Regions from separate parts of the Homo sapiens genome. Here regions 1, 2 and 3 are each linked to region 4. Evidence: promoter capture Hi-C in 16 types of primary human blood cells and fetal thymus (Javierre and others, 2016). All regions are on one chromosome and are shown on one strand. The core of a region is centred on a gene start or on the middle of the fragment in contact, and the rest is flanking DNA. Distances in the headings are between cores, read along the strand shown.

Region 1 (4,533 bases), core at 1,419-3,918, 170 kb after region 4:
AGAAAATAAATAACAAAAATTAGAGAACAAGTCAGTAAGATTTAAAACAGGAAAACATAGAGAAAAATCAACAAAATTAAAAACTGTTTTTTAAAAAATCAATAAGCTTCTAGCCAGTCTAACCAGGGAAAAAGGAAAAGACATTAGACACACATTTCTAATATCAGAAAGGAAATAGATATTATTATTTCCTGATCTCATGGACATTAAAAGGATAGTGAAGGATTACTATGAACAACCCTATGTCTACAAATTTATAAACTTAGGTCTAGAGCACGGTCTTTATTCCTAAGGTGTGACCTATCTGTTACAAACTATTGTCTCCTGAATTTCTGATGTGTTCACTAAAGCTCTTTGCTTTGGCTACATTGGAAATACAACATATATCTAGCCCTTTGTGACCTCCAAAATCTCTGTTCTGCTTTCAACCATTGAGCAGAGTTCTCTGCTAGTCCTTGCAGAAGTTTGCTCTGAGCACATGCGGGCCAAAGACCTGAGGGATGCCCTTCCACTGATCTGTGATACCTCTTCTTGGTAGCTCTCCTCTGTTCTCTACCTTTACTCACAAATTCCATCCGCCTTAGCATTTCTTTATTTTGATTTCTCTACCCACTGAAAATCTGTTTCTTCTACCCACCAAAAACGCTGATTTCTTACTGAGTTCCATTTTTCTATGCTGCATTTTGGAAATATCACCAGGCAGAAAGCCAAGGTGAATGTAGAACTTAACTTGTATGCTTTACTTTTTAAAAAAGAGAGCAGCCCTGTGCTGTATCTATGCCCAATGTCTGAAACCAGTTTGTCCAGTGGAAAGATAAGTTCAATACCAGCTTTTTATTATGGTTGTAACTGGAAGTTTCCTTATCTCTTCAAAAGTGGCTTCTGACACATTCTCATCCCTCTTTCTGGAATTCTAATGGCATTTATGTTAGACCTTTCTCTCGTACATCCTTTTATGCATATTTTTTGTATTCCCCGTCCCCCACCATTTCATCTTTCTGTGCTTCACACTGAATCTGTTTCTGACATGTCTTCCTGTTCTCAAATTCTTGATCCTCCTAATTATGTTTTAAATTTTGATTATTATATATCTTTTCTTTCTAAAGTTTTGTAGCCTTTGACCAACATTCCCCAAATTCTACCCCCCATTATATTTTTCACTTCTAGAATTTCCATTTGGTCCATATGTATATGTGTGTGTGTGTGTGTGTGTGTGTGTATTTCCAGTTCTTTGATGATATTCTCTTATCTTCTACTTTATAGAACATATTAAGCATAATTATTTTAAAATCTGTTTCTGATGACTCAGTGTTCTGGATCCCTGGAGATTCTGATTCTCTTGTCTGTTGTTTCTTTTGTTTTGTTTTCTTGTCTTCTTGTTTGTGTGGTTGTTTTTTATTGTGTTCAAGACAATAGATATAAAAACTATAAACCTAATTTGAGACTTAGTATGATGGATTCCTTCAGAGAGAACTTAATTTTGCTTCTGGTGAAAGGGTATAATTCTTAGGTCAGATTTTCATTGTTTGTGCTCTGTGGCTACTGTAACCACTAATTTCATATATTTATCTTTCCCTCTATATTCTTACCTTCTCAGGTTTGCTTACCCTTTGTGTGTATATGTGAAGTTACCAATGAACTTTTTGCTCATTTTTAAATTGGGGTGTTTATTTTATTATCTTATTATATTGTATGTTCAAAATATAAGACTTTTGTCAACATAATGTGAATATGCTCTCTCATTCAGGGGCTTCCCTGTTGAAGTATTTCAAAGAGAAGGAGATTTTAATTTTGATAAATTAATTGAAATTTATCTTTTTTTTTTCTTTTGTGGTCCTTTTTTTGGTCTCTCCTAAGGTTGTAAAGAAATTCTATGCTTCTAGAAGTTACATAGTTTAAGATTTTACATCTAAGTATATGATCTATTTGGAATCAATTTTAGTATATAGCAAGAGGTAAGGGTTGGATTTGTTTTTCCTTTAAGGATATCCAGTTGTTTCAGTTCAATTTGTTGAAAAGAGTATCTTTTCCGTATTGAATTACCTTGACCCTTTTGTTGAATAATAATTAACCATATATGTATGTGTCTATTTCTAAACTCTCTATTTTGTTTCATTGTCTATCCTTATACCAATATCACATAATCTTGATTACTGTAGCTTTACGGTGTATTTTAGAATCATGTAGTATAAATCCTCTAGATTTGCTCTTTTAAAAATTTTATGGGCTATTTTAATACATAAAATTATGTAGTGTAAGTACTCCAGATTTGTTCTTTTAAAGAATTTTTTGGGCTATTTTAGTACCTTTGCATTTTCATATAAATTTTACTATCAGTTTGTAATTTCTACAAAACAATCTGCTTGGATATTTTTTTTGGGGGGGGGGGTGGGGGATGGAGTCTTACTCTGTTGCCCAGGCTGGAGTGCAGTGGCATGATCTCAGCTCACTGCAACCTCTGCCTCTCCGGTTCAAGTGATTCTCCTGCCTCAGCCTCCTGAGAGGCTGGGATTACAGGCATGTGTGACTATGCCTGGTTAATTTTTGTATTTTTAGTAGAGATGAGGTTTCACCATATTAGCCAGGCTGGTCTCAAACTCCTGACCTCAGGGTGATCTGCCTGCCTCAGCCTCCCAAAGTGCTGGGATTACAGGTGTGAGCCATTGCATCTGACCTCTGCTTGGATTTTTGAATGAGATTACATTGACTATATAGTTTAATTTGGGGAGAATTGACATCTTAACAATATTGAGTCTTTTCATCCATGAACATGGTATATTTATCCATTTATTTAGGTCTTCTTTAATTTCTTTCAGCAATATTTGCTGGTTTTTAGTGTACAGATATTATATTTTGTTAAAGGTGCTCCTAAATATTTTATGATTTTATATGCTATTATAAATAGTGTTTAAAAATTTTAATCTTCTACTTGTTTATTGGTACTCTACAAATACCCTGCAACCTTGCTAAATTCACTTCTTAGTTTTTGTGGCTTTTTTGTAAGTTTCTTGAGATTTTCTGTATACCTGATTATGCTCTCTGCAAATAATTTTTTTTCTTTTCTTTCTAATTTGTATGCCTTTCTTTTTTCCTTCCTTCCTTCCTTCCTCCCCTCTCTCCACCCCTCTCTCCCTTTCTCCATCCCTCCCTTCCTTCTTTCCTTCCTTCCTTTCTCTTTCTTTTTCTCCTCTTTTCCTTTTCTCTCTCTCTTACCCTTCTTTCCTTTCTCCCTTTTTTTCTTTCTATCCTTCTCTTTTTTTTTTTTTTTTTGCACTGCTTAATATCTCCACTTGAATAGAAGTACTGAGAGTGGACGTCCTTGTTCTTTCTCCCAATCTTTGGGGAGAGTATTTGGGCTTTCACCATTAAATTATTATGTTAACTGTAGGTTTTTCATAGATTTTTTTTTTTTTACCAGATTGAGGAAATTACTGTCTGTTCTTAGTTTGCTGAGAGCTTTAATCATGAATGTCAGTTTTGGTCAAATGCATTTTCTCTTTCTATTGAGATGATTATATGATTTCTTCCCTTCATTCTGTTAATATGGTAAATTACATTGATTTTCTTGGCAACGTTATGCCTTTTATGCCTATTTTTTGTATTCCCCATCCCCCACCATTTCATCTTTCTGTGCTTCATACTGAATCTTTTTCTGACATGTCTTCCTGTTCTCAAATTCTTTAGCCTCCTAATTATGTTTTTAATTTTGGTTATTATATATCTTTTCTTTCTAAAGTTTTGCAGCCTTTGACCAACATTCCCCAAATTCTGCCCCCCTGTTATATTTTTCACTTCTAGAATTTCCATTTGGTCCATATGTATATGTGAGTGTGTGTGTGTGTGTGTCTGTGTGTGTGTGTGTGTGTGTGAAATGCAATCTTGCATTCTTGGGATGAACTCATCTTGTCATGCTGTATTATATTGCTAGATTTAATTTTCTAAGTTAAGTGTTCAGGTTCCTACATTTATGAGAGATATTGTTTTGTTTTATTTAATTATGATGTCTTCATCTGGTTCCATTTACAGAGTAATACTGACCTCATAAAATGAGTTGGAAAATGTTTTTTTCTCTTCTAATTTCTGAAAGAGTTTATGTAAGATTTGTATTATTTATTCTTTCAATGATTAATAGAATTTACTGGTGAAGCCATATGGACTTGGGGTTTCTTTGAGGGAAATGTTTTATGTTGTGAATGTAATTTTAATAGTTATGGGTTTTTTTTACTTTTATTGAGTTATAGTGAGTTATTTGTGTCTTTTAAGGAATGTGAGCATCTCATCCAAGTTTTCAAATTTATTAGCATGTCTGTAGGATCTGTAGTGATGTTCTACCTTTCATTCCTGATATTGGTAATTCATGAATTTTCAATTTTTTTTTTGTCCATCAGGATGCTGGGGCCTATCAAGTTTTTGGGACTTTTCAAAGAACCAGTTTTTGATTTTATTGATTTTATCTATGGATTTTCTGATTTCAATTTCATTGATTTCTGTTTCTTTATTGTTTTCTTCCACCTACTGAGTTCTGTTCTTTTT
Region 2 (4,868 bases), core at 80-2,579, 210 kb after region 4:
GATATGAGGGCAGTTTTTCCAATGGGGTTTTATCGGCTTTAGAAGTCAACCTCAATTTTTAGAAAAGCAGTATGAAAGCATGTCATTCTCATAAAGCCTTGATAAAATAACCAGTTTCCCCAGTTGTGTCCTGTTACAAAAGAAAACAGATTCTTATTGCATGTATGCAAACAACTATATTGCCATAAGTTAAGAATACTCACATATAGTTTCCAAATTCTGCAGAAATCAGGTAGAGAGAAAGAAACATGCTCAAAATTTTGCTTATAGGTTGTAGTTTACTCAATTGTTAAAAGTTGTAAATGGTTTAAAAGGGAAAAAAGTTTTCTTGACTCTGAAAAACAAAACAAAAAGGGTCAGCAGCATTTCTGGAAGAAAAGGTCATAAACAGATTATTTCAATCTCCTATTTGTTTAGTCCATGAAATTAACTCCTGTTCTGCTTGATATTTATGGACACATTAGATCTCCAAGAGGGTCTTACAAGTTTTTCCCTCTATTCTAATGGCTCAGTCTCCAGGTTGTCAGAGACCTGCATCCAAGAGTATCCATGAGAGTCCTTTAGCTGATTATAAATCTTCTTTTGGAATAGATTAAAACAAGACAATTGTCTGTGGATGACAAGAGTCTTAGGACAGCCACAGTTAAAGATGCAATCAACAGGGAAATCTGGTCATTTCTGTGGCACACAATTTAATGTAACAATCTTAATTGTTATTGATAGCAGATACTTAGGCATATCAGAATCATAGGAATCTCATATAACTATGGAATACATATTAATCACACATTTATGTGACTATAATCTAAAAAAAGCTAAACACCATTTTAAATGTGATAGTGTTTCCTGTATGGTTTTGATACACCAAATAAGCTGCATATGTCTCTTTTGGACCTCAGAGGACCTACTACACAAAATGGTTAATTAGGTCAAAAAAGGCTTAATTCAGGATTTTATTTTGGAAAGCTTGTCAAATATCAAAATTTAAAACACTTGACATCACAAAATAGGACCACAGTTTATTTATTTAACCAACATGATTAACTCAAAGATTTCTAAACAGCAAAAATCCTTTAGTCTTTCACAGAGAGAGGACTCAGCTTTCTAAATAACCAGACCCAGTAAAGACAGCATGGCTGGGCATGGTGGGTTATGCCTGTAATCCCAGCACTTTGGGAGGCCGAGTGGGCAGATCACGAGGTCAGGAATTTGAGACCAGCCTGGCCAACACAGTGTAACCCCATCTCCACTAAAAATACAAAAATTAGCTGTGTGTGGTGGCACATGCCTGCAGTCCCAGCTACTCGGGAGGCTGAGGCAGGAGAGTCACTTGAACCCAGGAGGCGGAGGTTGCAGTGAGTTGAGACCATGCCATTGTACTCCAGCCTGGGTGACTGGCTGAAGCAAGACTCTGTCTCAAAAAAAAAAAAAAAAAAATTCTGTCTCTCTCTTTTTCCTGTAGGCGAATGAAAATCTTGCTCAAAAGGGAAAATGAAATTTTACCTTTGCATTAGTATATTAATACTAAAGCTAATTTCAATAACATTTGATGAAGCTATCTAATTTTAACCAGTTTGACCATAAGGTAAGATTTTTATAACCCTTTGCAAATTTTTTGTTTAAGAGCAGATAAATGCTCCAGGAAAACCCTATTATTCTGACACATGAGCCCAGATTCTGGCCCTGTGTTAGCAAGCTTTTATTTTAATATTTAATTTATGGAAAAACTAAATAATACCCTTTTAGCCAACTAGCTCATACACAGAATTTCTGTTTCAAGATTAATCTTTCACAAACCATCTCTAACTGGCTTAAACTTTCAGTTATATTCTATCTTTCTTTTAACCCAAAACAATCCTTAAACAACCTCTAAATTAGGCAAAATAGTTTGTCTTTTAAAAACTACATTCCCATGCCTTTTTCTTAAAAACACCTAATTTTAATTTTTAGTGTATGCAACTTTAATTCTGTACCAAGTGCAGAGCCTGGGAACTACAGGTAATATGTGACTCTTTTCCAGTATAGCTAGGGAGTGTGTCTAATTCTATATATCCCCAGGCCTTACCTAGAATCTAATGGCCCCAAAGCAGGCAAGTCAAACAGTTATCAAAAGTCATAGAAGCAGTTTATAATCTTAAAGCATCTAGCAAGGGCAGTTCCTGACCTGCCTAATTTAGACTGAATGCCTAAATTTTAAAGACATTTAATTTTATTTCATTAATAGTCTTTAAAACTGTCTTTATTTACCAAAGATTACTAAAGCCATGTGAACTAAAGTGTTTATTTTTCTGATAAAATATTTTATTTAAGCATTTATTTTTCTTTAAGCCAATTCATTGGATGTCTTTTACATATCTTGGTAGTAAGACATCACATACATACATGACACATATAAATACACAGACAGAGAAGCAGATCTGGTAGAGTTATAAGATTCTTCATTTGCCAGTTTTTAAGATTTTCTTCCTTTTTTTTAAATTAATTTTTGAGATGGAGTCTCTCTCTGTCACCCAGGCTGGAGAGCAGTGGTGTGATCTTGGCTCACTGCAACCTCTGCTTCCTGGGTTCAGGTGATTATCCTGCCTCAGCCTCCCAAGTAGCTGGGACTACAGGTGCACGCCACCATGCCCGGCTAATTTTTGTATTTTTAGTAGAAATGGGGTTTCACCATGTTGACCAGACTGGTCTCAAATTCCTGGCTTAAAGTGACCCACCTGCCTCAGGCCCCCAAAGTGCTGGGATTACAGGTGTGAACCACCACACCTGGCCAAGATTTCTTTCTCATTTTATTTTAGATAAAGCATCAATCTTTTGATTATCTGTTCTCTGCCCTAAATAATTATCAGTGAGGTAACTCTGATTTTGCATTTTAAAAGGGACAATTCTTAGGTGAAATAAGATAGATAATTTATATTTTACTTAAACCAAGGGAGAAATGGTGTGAGTAAAAGTTTAGGTGAGACAGCCAGGGAAAACAGATACCCTTACATGTGGAGATTTCTTTAAAGATGTAAGTTTTTAAATTGGGTTCAGGGTGGAGCCTTTTAAAGAACAAGGCCAGGAAAGCATGCAGTTTTTAGGGCCTAGTAGGTGGGCACAGCTGGAAGGCAGAACAGATCTCCCAAAATCAAGGATCCCATTTCCACACCAAATACTGGGTCCCCGCAAAGAGGCAAGTGCTATGAGACAAGACAGTGCAATGCTTTCACAGCATGTTTTATTGTAAGGACATTTCCCCAAGGCTGCTGGACAACCCAACATCAACTAGTCTGCTCTGTAATCAGCCCATCCCCCATTTCATACCTTCTAGTTGCCCAAGAGCATGGCTTTTTATGTATGTAAACACAAAAAAAAAGGAGTATCACCCTGTGGTAATAGCCACTCACTGTAAGCAACTGCTATTGGACATTTAAAAAAATATGCCTCTTATTTAGCTATTGCACATTAAGATTCAACATTTCTAAGTAATGCAAAATAATTTCTGATGCCCCCAAAAGTCAAAAAGATCAGGTAACATAATGCAAAACAGAACAGAGCCTCAGATTTTGGGAAGTATCAGTCTGCGTGTAATTCTTTGGGTTCTACTTGGAAAACAGAGGTTTCTCCCAAAACAGGAGTCTGTGGTGCCTCTTCTGTTTCTCTCAAGGAGTTCCAGGCTGTCAGAAATTACCTTAAGTCCTCTCATGCAGGGCAGTGAGGGCGTGTGTGCCAGAGGACAGAGTAAATGGAGAAACAATTCAATTGACTGAGAAAAAAAAAAAACCCAAAAACCTTTTTTTCAAAAAAACAAGATCCAAGAAGAGAAAAAAGCCTAATGGCCTTTTAAATGTATGTATAGCTTGGCTATCCCCTTTTAATTAATATCATTTACCATAGAGCTCTTTAAAAAAAACTCTTTTAAATCTTTAATTTCCAGACCATTGCCTGGCTGTTAGGGACAAACAGCCAATGCCTCTGGCATTTAAGCCTTTTATTCTCCCAAAGGGATTTTCCCAAGTGCAACTGTTACCAGTAAAAGGGGTCTTGATACAGACCCCAAGAGAGGGTTCTTGGATCTCATGCAGGAGGGAATTCAAGGTGAGTGGCAGAGTGCAGTGAGAAGAGAGAGTTTATTGAAAGCTACTCCATTACAGAGAAGGACATCCTTAAGTTTTTCTTGTATAGGGGTCATCTCTATATAAAAGCTAAGCTAAGCCATGTCTATGTAAGTGTGAGCAGAGAGTGTGACAAAATTTATATTCTATTGATTTAAAGAAAACTATCCTTGATGTTTTAGTGTGTGAATACATCAAACCATAACTATAACAATCTTGAAGCCATATTTTGTTATGGGTATTGGGACATCTGGACTTTCTGCTGTTGTGGGAGTGTCTTTGCCGGTATCTTAGGCTGTTTCCTCAACTGTAAATATCTCATGACTGTGGGTAGTGACCAACAAGGAATATGCCCAGTTAATCTGAAGATGGAGCTGAACTTAAAATGGGGTTACTCTGGCTCTCCTAGGCTCCTGCTTCCCTAACAAATCCAATAAGCCTTAATGAAGGTTATGATTTAACCATAGCTGCACAAAGTATCAACAAAGAGATTGCAAGCAGTTTTTACAAGATGTAGAATCGCCTCCTAGATAGCTCAGAGAAAGGAAAATTCTAGACAGAAAATCACAAGCTGCCTGACATAACCTAAACATTTCCGCCCTCTGAATGGTAGAGATGGAGAGAGAGTACCCCCATATGGTCACAAAGACAATGGAGGGAAAAAGAATAAATAAATGGCAAAGGTCAGATAAATATCAAACCAGAAGGGACTCATTCCCTAAGATGGGAATTGAACCCATGCCACCATCATGAATGGGCAAAGCCTTAGCCACA
Region 3 (4,516 bases), core at 537-3,036, 140 kb after region 4:
GTCCCACCTTCCAAACCCATTGGGGTAAGAGTTCTGTCTTTTGGACCCACTGAGGTGGTGGCCCTGCATAGCAGCTTTGCCATGTAGGGGTTGGGCCCCCAAGACCCTGCCCCTGTGGCTTTGCGTGGCTCTATCTCCATGGCTTGCTGGGCATTGCCCTGGTGGGGGCTCTCTACAGTGATCCTGGCCCCCACAGTGGTTCCCTTCCTGGGCCCCACTCTGCAGGCTGGGGTCCGGTGCCCATGACTCTCTCAGGGTGGAGTTCCAGCTCTCCTGGGCATCCTTTGAAATCTAGGTGGAGGTGAATACACCCCCATGCCTTTGCTGGGTACAGTGCATGCTGCTCTGCCCAAAGGGCAGCTGAACAATGAGGCACTGGGGTATAGGACTGAATTTTACAATGTAAGAAGGTGCCTTGTGAGGGGGTGGCATGCCCTGAAGTCTCAAAAGTGCTGGTGGCCTCTCCTCTGAAACCATTTCTCCCCCAGGGTCCTTGCACTCTGGGTCTGTGATGGGAGGGGCAGTGCAGAGGATTTCCGAAGTGCCTCTGGGGTCATTCTTCCATTGTTTTGGACAATACCTCCTGGCTTCTGTTGAGATGGCTGACTAATCTTATTAAATGGTCACTTGGCTACACTCTCCCCATTCTCTTCCTAACAGGCTTCTTCATCCTGTCAATACAGATAGGCTGAGGGTTTTCCAAATCTTTAAGTCTTCTTCCTCCTTGATTAACAATTCTGTCTTTGGATCATTCTCTCTCCCCACATTTTATTACAGTATAAGCAGTCAGAAGAAATCCAGCTGGGCCTCTCTTTCAACACTTTGCTAAGAAATTTTCTTAGCCAAGTATCCAATTTTATCACTCACAAGTTCTACCATCCACAAAACACTAGGACATGAACACAATTCAGCCAAGTTCTTTGTCACTTTATAGCAAGGATGGCCTTTCCTCCACTTTCCAGGAATGTGTTCCTCATTTCTGTCTGAGATCGCATCAGAATTGCTTTTGCTGTCCGTATTTATACTAACATTCTCTTCAGGATCATTTAGGTATTCTCAAAGAAGATTGAAGCTTTTTCTACTGCTTTCCTCTTCTCTTTTTCAGCACTTGCCAGAATTGCTTTTAAAGGTCTATTCATGGCAATATAGGCTTTTTTCTAGCCTGCAGATCAAAACTCTTCCAGCCCCTACCTGTTACCCAGTTCCAAAGCCACTTCCACATTTTTAGCTGTTTGTTACAGCATCACCCCACTTCTCAGTACCAATTTTCTGTTTTAGTCCATTTGGGTTGCTATAACAAAAATTCTATAAACTGGATGACTTATAAGCAATGCACATTTGTTTCTTATAGTTCCAGGGGCTGGGAAGTCCAAAATCAAGGTGCTGGTAGATTGGATGATCTGTGAGAACTCATTTCCTGGTTCATGAATGGCTGTCGTTCTGCTGTGTCCTCAAGTGACAAAAGGGCAAGGGATTTCTCTGGGGCCTCTTTTATAAGGGCACTAATCACCTCCTAAAGGCTCCACATCCTAATACCATCACATTAGGGGGTTTGGATTTAACAGAAGAATTTTGAGGTGACACAAACATTCAGTCTGTAGCATTCTTTAAGTATGAAATCTCTTATGATTATTATATAGATATAATTAAAATATATATATGGGGAAATTATATCTTATATATCTGTCTGGCTTAAAATAATCAAAATACTATATTTATTATATATTATGTCCTTAATAAAACCATTTATTTGGAATCTAGTTAATTAGAGTCTCATCATGCCAGTCTGGTCCAAATTTCTAAGCTAGTTGGGTAGTAAAGCAGGGTGCTTTGAGATTAGTCGTATGTGGATTCACATCTGAGCTTACCTGCAAATTGCCAGTTAGTGAACTTGAGCAAGTTTTTTACCCCCTGAAACCAAGTGTCCTCATCTATAAAATGGAAATAATTCTTCTTGCAGTACTTTAAAATGCTGCTGTGAAGATTTAATGGGTTACATATATGTAAAGTGCTTACTTTAGTGACTGACAAATTGTAAATTCTCAATAAATACTGAATCCCTACAATTTGCCATTTTCTTCTTGGAGTTGAATGTTGAGTTGAATGTTTCACTGGAAAACTACTGTGGTCAGGTAGAGTTGCATCTGTTATTTTAAAATCTGTATCTTCATTTGTTCATGAGGAAATGTTTATAACCAGCTACTGTATACTAGGAATCATAGTTGGGACCCAAAACTAGTCTTGTGATATAGGAAGCACTTAAGCGAGGCAATATCCACCAGGGGCTCTCTGGGACCAAGTGGTAGGTCATGGTTCTGTTGTTTGAATTTTTATTGGAAGAAGCACAACTGGCAACTTGATCCTTGTAGCTGATTGTGTATCAAGGATAGAACACAATCCTTACTTAAGTAACCAGCATTCATTGAGCACCTTCTATATACAGGGCTTTGTGCTAGGCATTGTGAAAACCACACAAAAACATAAGATATGGTACTTGCTATGAAGCTTATGTCTAATTGGGAAGATCAGGCATATTTACATAAATCATTAGTTAACAATGTAATGTAGTACATAGGAGTACTAAATAAATATATTAGACAGTGTTAATTTATCAGAAGGAGGGAGCTGTATGGATTGAAATGATCAGAAAAGATTTTGCGTCACTTGGGCCAAGGATGAGTTTTAAATTATGGAGAGAGTTTTGTTTTGTTTTATTTTTCGAGATGGAATCTCACTTTGTTGCCCAGGCTGGAGTGCAGTGGCACGGCTCACTGCAACCTCTGCCTCCTGGGTTCAAGCAATTCTCCTGCCTCAGCCTCCCCAGTATGTGGGACTACAGGCACATGCCACCATGCCCGGCTAATTTTTGTATTTTTAGTAGAGATGGGATTTCATCATGTTTGCCAGACTGGCCTCGAACTCCTGACCTCAAGTGATCCGCCTGTCTTGGCCTCCCAAAGTGCTGGGATTACAGGCATGAGCCACCATGCCTGGCTGGACAGAGTTTTTATTGATAAGGTAAATGGGGCATTCTGGGAGGGGAAGCTGTTTTAACAAAGGAACTGTCCAGGTATGTTCATGGGTCAGTGATGGCTCTGAACAACGTTCATATAGCAGACCTGTGGAGATCAGCAGACACTATGTACAAGAAAGTGTCTTGGAACATCTGCACTTGAGAATTCAGTGATGGCTTAAGACCAAATTTCCAATTCTAGAGCAACCATTCAATCAGTAGTCACTGAGTATCCACCATGTACTGGGCACTGGGGGCTCCATGGTTAGTGACATGGGACTGACCCCATCCTCATCTCAGGAAGCTTATCGTATGGTCGGGTTGAGAGGCGAGAAGACAATCAAATAATCATAAAATCAAGTGTAAAATTTTGCTTGTGACAAGTGCTTCAAGTATGTTATACTATAAGATGTTATAAAAGGAAATTTTGCTTTTATTGAGGAAGTCAGGAGGGCTTCTTTGAGGAAGTAACCTTTGGTTTGAGAACTGCAGGATGAATAATGTGAACAAGGCCTACAAGGGGGGGCGGTTCAGGAAGAGGAATCTCATGTGTCACGGGGGAGTCTGGCAAACAGCTGAGACTGAAGGATCAGTGTAGCTGGAACTCAGAGTGAGGGCTCCCTGGTGTGACACTAGACTTAAGAGTTCCATGGGCTGGAACATGCAGGGTGTTGTGAGCTATGTTAGGGAGGCCTGCGTTTATTCCAAATCTGATGGGAAGCTGCTGAACGGCTTTGAGTGGGCTGTGGTGTCTGTCACCCCTGCTGCAGTTGAGAACGGATTGAGAAGAAGCCAGGTTGGATATAGATTGACCTGGAAGGAGGTCATTGCATTTGCGTAAGCACTTCAAAGGCAGGGACAATTGAAACTGAAGAATAAGCAGATCTTTCTGAAAGCTATTTAGGAAGTAAAATTGATAGGACTTGGTAACATATTGGCTAGAGTGGGTTTCTGGATGCACTAACTGGATGCATGGTGGTCATATTAGTTTGTTGTTGCACTGCTATAAAGAAATACCTGAGACTGGGTAATTTATAAAGAAAAGAAGTGTCATTGAGTCATGGTTCTGTAGGCTGTACAGGAAGCATAGTGGCTCCTGTCTCTAAGGGAGGCCTCAGAAAACTCATAATCATGGTAGAAGGCAAAGGGGAAGCACGTCTTACATGGCTGGAGCAGGAGGAAGAGAGAGAAGGGGAAGTGCCACATATATATATATATATATATATATATATTTTTTTTTTTTTTTTTTTGAGATAGAGTTTTGCTCTTGTTGCCCAGGCTGGAGTGCAGTGGCACAATCTCAGCTCACTGCAACTTCCGCCTCCCAGGTTCAAGCAATTCTCCTGCCTCAGCCTCCCAAGTAGCTGGGATTACAGGCACCCACCACCACACCCAGCTAATTTTTTGTATTTGTAGTAGAGATGGGGTTTCACCATGTTGGCCAGGCTGGTCTTGAACTCCTGACCTCAGGAGTTTTGATCCACCCGCCTCGGCCTCCCACAG
Region 4 (4,701 bases), core at 99-2,598:
AAAAATACCCATATCTAACAGTATCCTGGAGGAACGTCACAATTCCAAAGACAAAAAGGAATGCCTAAAAGATTCCCAAAAGGAAAAAAGAGGGTACTCAAAGGAATGACAACTATATTGGCATTATATTTATCGGCTCACTAGATGCTGGAAAAGAAAGGAACAATGCCTTTTGAAAATCTCTGAAGGACAATGATTTTGAGCCCAGAGTTCTATAACCATTCAAATTAGCATTTAAATGGAGACCAATATATATATATTTTGATTTCCAAGGACTGAGGAACTTTATCACCTACAAACCCTTCCTGAAAGAACAGCTTAAGGATGTACTACAGCAAAACGAAAAGAAATCTAAGAAAGAGGAAGATACCAGGCTGCAGGAACAGAGGAATCCAGAGAAACCCTAGAGTGTTACTCGTGCAATAGGCCCCCAAAAGAAATAATGTGAAGACACAGGATCATTGTAGTGGATAAAGTTTTATTACAGTACTAAATTTAAAAATCACAGTATATTTACTTTTCCCTCAAGAGGGTCTGGGCACAGTGCCTCATGCCTGTAATCCCAGTACTTTGGGAGGCTGAGACAAGAGGATGGCTTGAGCCCAGGAGTTTGAGATCAGCCTGGGTGACACAGTGAGACCTGTCTCTACAAAAAAATAAGAAAATTAGCCGTAGTGACAGATAATTACATCACTGTTTCTACTGGGTCCAAACACTCTATTTGACCCTGCCATGAATATTTTTTATATCATCAGCCGACTATAGAAACTTGTTCTTGGTTTTCAGTGTTAAGAATTAACCTATAGACATTTTATGGAAGATTTAATTTGCATTAGAAACAGTGTGCTATAAACTCTGCCAATGCCAGGGCATGTTAAGAGGTATATAAAGTATAGGTAGAGAGGAAGACAAAGGAAAGGAGTAGGGGTGCCAAGTCCCTCACCTTACCCTGCAGAAAAGAGATACTTAGTGTGAGGTGGGGTTGGGGCTCAGGGGAGGGTGGCAGGAGAGTTTAGGAGAGGATAGGACACGTGGGTGGAAAGTGAGGTGAATGAGGGCTGGGAGGTTGCAGGGAGCCCTGAGTGGAAAAGGCGGGGCAGAGCAGGGGGTACTGAACTGAAGAGAGTGGAGCAGAGCAGGGGTGTGCTGGGTGGAAGGGGTGGTGCAGAGCAAGTGGTGCTAAGCAGAGGGGGTGGGGCAAAGCACGGACTGCTGAGTGGAAAGGGCAGTACAGAGAAAGGAGTGGTGAGCGGAAGAGGCGGGGCAGAGCAGGAGGTGCTGGGCAGAAGGGGTGGGGTAGGGGGCGAGGGCAGAGCGCCCCCTCGTGGCTGGGGCGCCTGCGCAAACCAGCTGCCTCACGAGCACTGGAGCTTGCGTTACTTGGCCTCACCTCACCTGTGCTGTCCACGCCTGGCTTTGTCTCACCTGACGCGATATGCCTCTCCTGCGTGGGCGCTGTCCTGCCCGCCGCCACTACCGCCGCTTGGCCCTGCTCGGCCTGCAGCCCGCTCCCCGCTTCGCCCACTCGGGGCCCCCGCGCCAGCGGCCCCTGTCTGCCGCGGTGAGTTGAGGCCCAGCCATCATGGTGGGCGGGAAGCGCGTGGCCCTGGCGGGGCGCCCCGACGGGTGGGGAGAAGGGAGGACACGGCGTGCAGGCCTCGCGTGGGAGGCTCTTGTGGCTTGGTCGCCGTTGGGGGAGGTTCCTGTGGCTTGGTCGCCTTTGGGGGAGGTTCCTGGGAGAGGGTCGCGGTGAGGATGCCGTCGTCGGGCACAGGGGCGGAAAGCCCGGGACCCTGAGGAACGCGCGGGGATTGGGCCTCCTTCGTTGTTACCCTTTACCGGCACCTGGCTCGGGGGCGGGGCTGTGGTTTCGCGGAGGAATGATTTACCATCCTCGGACGTCCTCGGCACTGCGAAGATCTAGCGTTTTCGATAAAATGGTGGAAATCCTGGGCCACATCGAAGTTCCAGAGTGCGAAGGTTGGAACCGGAGACCCCTTAGATGAAAAATGAATTAAAAAAAAAAATCAGGTGATCCATGAATCGATTTTCAGCATTTTAGATTTCACTAGGCGCCTGTTTCTAGGACAACGGTCTAGGTGCTCAAAATGTTTTTTTTAAGCACTTTTTGTTAGGCAGCAAGTCACTGGCCTAGGAAGCCATACTCAGCAGCGCGTGTCATCTTCTCTTCCAGGAAATGGCTGTTGGACTTGTGGTGTTTTTTACGACCTTCTTAACACCAGCTGCATATGTGCTAGGCAACCTGAAGCAGTTCAGAAGGAATTAGATGGAAGATGATGTTGAACAGCTGTTAACGTCCAAAAAACTTTCAGAAAAAGCTGTGTTTTTGTTAACGAGCAAAATTGCCTAGTTGAGTTGATGCAACCATTGTGGTATTCACTTTCCTCATGTTTATGATGAATATTTTGCACTTTTTTAGTACTGTGCATTATATAGATGTATAGTCAAAAATGTTCTGCTTAAGTGTTAAATAAAACGGAAACACTTATTCGTGCTTGGTAATATGTGTGCAGATTATTTTCTAAACATCGTGAAAGCTGATGAAAATTTACCGAGAACTGCTGTGAAAGGTCTGACTTAGTGACTCAGGGAGTGACATTGTTACTATATGGGAGTGAATGTATCTAGTGACATCACCCTTAAAAGATTAGATGTGTAGCTGTGAGGTAATATAAGTTTAGCTAAATGGTTTTTATGTTCTATTAGTACTGCCATGCCACACTTCACAATTTGCTGTGAGAAGTACAACCATTTCTTTGCCTCTTTAAATGACTACACGTCAGAATGTGAAGAATGAGTACATCTCCTATTTTAATGATTTTATTATCTTCTCTTAGTCTTCTGTGAGGTTTGAAGAATCATACACATCTTTGAACTGTCTTAGCTGTTGATGATGCTGTTATCATGGGCAACATAGTTCAACTCTGAGTCTTGGTTTCCTTATCTCTGTAATGGGGACTTAAAATTGCTGTCTTGAAGTGATGTTGTGGAAATAAAACATTGAACAAAGAAAGATAAAGTACCTCTCAACATAGTACCTGAAACAATAGTCAATAAATAGAAGTTGGGCAACCCGCTGGGGTCCCCTTCCGCACTGTGGAAGCTTTGTTCTTTCGCTCTTCGCAATAAATCTTGCTGCTGCTCACTATTTGGGTCCGTGCCGCCTTTAAGAGCTGTAACACTCATGGCAAGGTCTGCAGCTTCACTCCTGAAGCCAGCGACACCACGAACCCACCAGAAGGAAGAAACTCCGGACACATTTGAACATCTGAAGGAACAAACTCCGGACACACACCATCTTTAACAACTGTAACACTCACCGTGAAGGTCTGCAGCTTCATTCTTGAAGTCAGCGGGACCAAGAACCCACCAATTCCGGACACAATAAGTGATTAACAGCAGATATACCAATTGTGAGAAACACATATTCACCTGGCCAAACCCTTGGAGACATGAAGAACAGCAGAAGCGAGACTTTTAATGGCAGACTTGCAAGACTGGCCGTCTGGTAGGCAGGCACACCTGGGGCAGTTACAGCAGGTAATTTATCCCCTAGCATGTAATAAGTCCCTCCCCGAGTTCCTCACTAGTCAAGTACTATGGGGTTACAATCTTCCTGGATGTTGCCTAAGTTTCATTATCCCCCTATAAGGTTATACCCCAGTCCCCTTCCCCACTTAAGTTTTGATTTCCCAATAACAAAACTTTCTTCCCTTTTATGGGCTGATCTCTCCTCTACATTCTGTTTGCTTATTGACCTTCTAGGTGCGTGAGCTGTGTGGTTTGTTACATCCACAGGCTGGCTGCACGTACTTAGATTTATCATGCCTTGAAAGTGGACTGTTTAAAGTGTTTTCTCACACCAATTATTTTATATCTACCTTCGCTAAATATTTCAGGTTCAATAAAAACAGCTGAGGCTTCTGAATTATTGGCAAAATGTCCTTGTGGTTAAGGTTCTTACTCAGGTGAACCTGATGTTCACAGGCTTTATAAATGATTAACAGAAATAATTTTAAATGACAACTAGTTTTGTCTAATATCTTCATTTTTCAGAAGTAATCTAGATAAACTGTTAAAAATAAAAAAAATTAAGTGCATAAAAATAGGATAAATGCTTCCAGGTAAACTTTTTATGTAATTTTAAAATCGTAAAATTATTTTGGATGCTTGTTGAATATTTGGGTCATTTCTAACTAAGAAAGGGTTATAATATGGGAAAATGTATTTCTAAAATTGTAGAGTGGTTTCGTCTATAAAATGTTCACATCTGATAGTTCAGGATTTCTTGCTTCCTAGGTTTTCACTAAAATTTAAGGTTACTAAGAATAAGAATTCTAGTTAATATATAATTCTTATATAATTCTAAAAGTTGTGTTCTTGAGAAAAAATAATTTTGTATAATTTAGAAGTTATTCAAAAGTTAAAAAAGGTAAAAAGAAAATAGGAAGTAAAAGAGATGTGAGAAAAGTTATGAATGTGAATATATTTTTGGTAAGTAAGATTGTTTAAAAATAATAATTTTATCTAAAGATCTTGTGTGGTAAATTTTTGTCTTAAAGTAAAATAACTGGTTATTTTTAAAAAGAACTGTAATGTAAGACAAGTAAGAAAGTAAAAAATGTTATAAATGGGCTGTGTAAGTGGTTATAAGGTATAAGAAACAGAATTTATAAAAGG

What was found. Contacts are between HindIII fragments. The CHiCAGO score rates a contact against its expected background, and 5 or more counts as called.
Region 1: a contact is called between a fragment that was not itself captured here and the fragment with the promoter of COX8C in region 4, in 3 of 17 cell types (monocytes, M2 macrophages and M1 macrophages). The highest score is 5.9, in monocytes.
Region 2: a contact is called between a fragment that was not itself captured here and the fragment with the promoter of COX8C in region 4, in 1 of 17 cell types (monocytes). The highest score is 5.3, in monocytes.
Region 3: a fragment that was not itself captured here is called in contact with the fragment with the promoter of COX8C in region 4 in 1 of 17 cell types (M1 macrophages); the score reaches 6.0 in M1 macrophages.

The regions. Positions count from the first base shown.
Region 1 is chr14:93,514,073-93,518,605 of GRCh38, forward strand. All of the region lies in intron 7 of UNC79 (unc-79 subunit of NALCN channel complex), which reads left to right. Among named protein-coding and RNA genes, the nearest start is that of UNC79, 85 kb to the left of the region's middle. The HindIII fragment of the contact is 5,128 bases long and covers 105-4,533 here.
Region 2 is chr14:93,552,935-93,557,802 of GRCh38, forward strand. All of the region lies in intron 14 of UNC79 (unc-79 subunit of NALCN channel complex), which reads left to right. Among named protein-coding and RNA genes, the nearest start is that of UNC79, 120 kb to the left of the region's middle. The HindIII fragment of the contact is 730 bases long and covers 965-1,694 here.
Region 3 is chr14:93,489,658-93,494,173 of GRCh38, forward strand. All of the region lies in intron 5 of UNC79 (unc-79 subunit of NALCN channel complex), which reads left to right. Among named protein-coding and RNA genes, the nearest start is that of UNC79, 61 kb to the left of the region's middle. RefSeq lists an enhancer at 168-667. The HindIII fragment of the contact is 1,433 bases long and covers 1,071-2,503 here.
Region 4 is chr14:93,345,834-93,350,534 of GRCh38, forward strand. COX8C (cytochrome c oxidase subunit 8C) reads left to right here and starts at 1,349. Exons shown (of 2, transcript NM_182971.3): 1 at 1,349-1,561; 2 at 2,195-2,523. The coding sequence starts at 1,436. The coding sequence ends at 2,287. It also overlaps a transcript of UNC79 not described here. The HindIII fragment of the contact is 4,764 bases long and covers 1-3,122 here.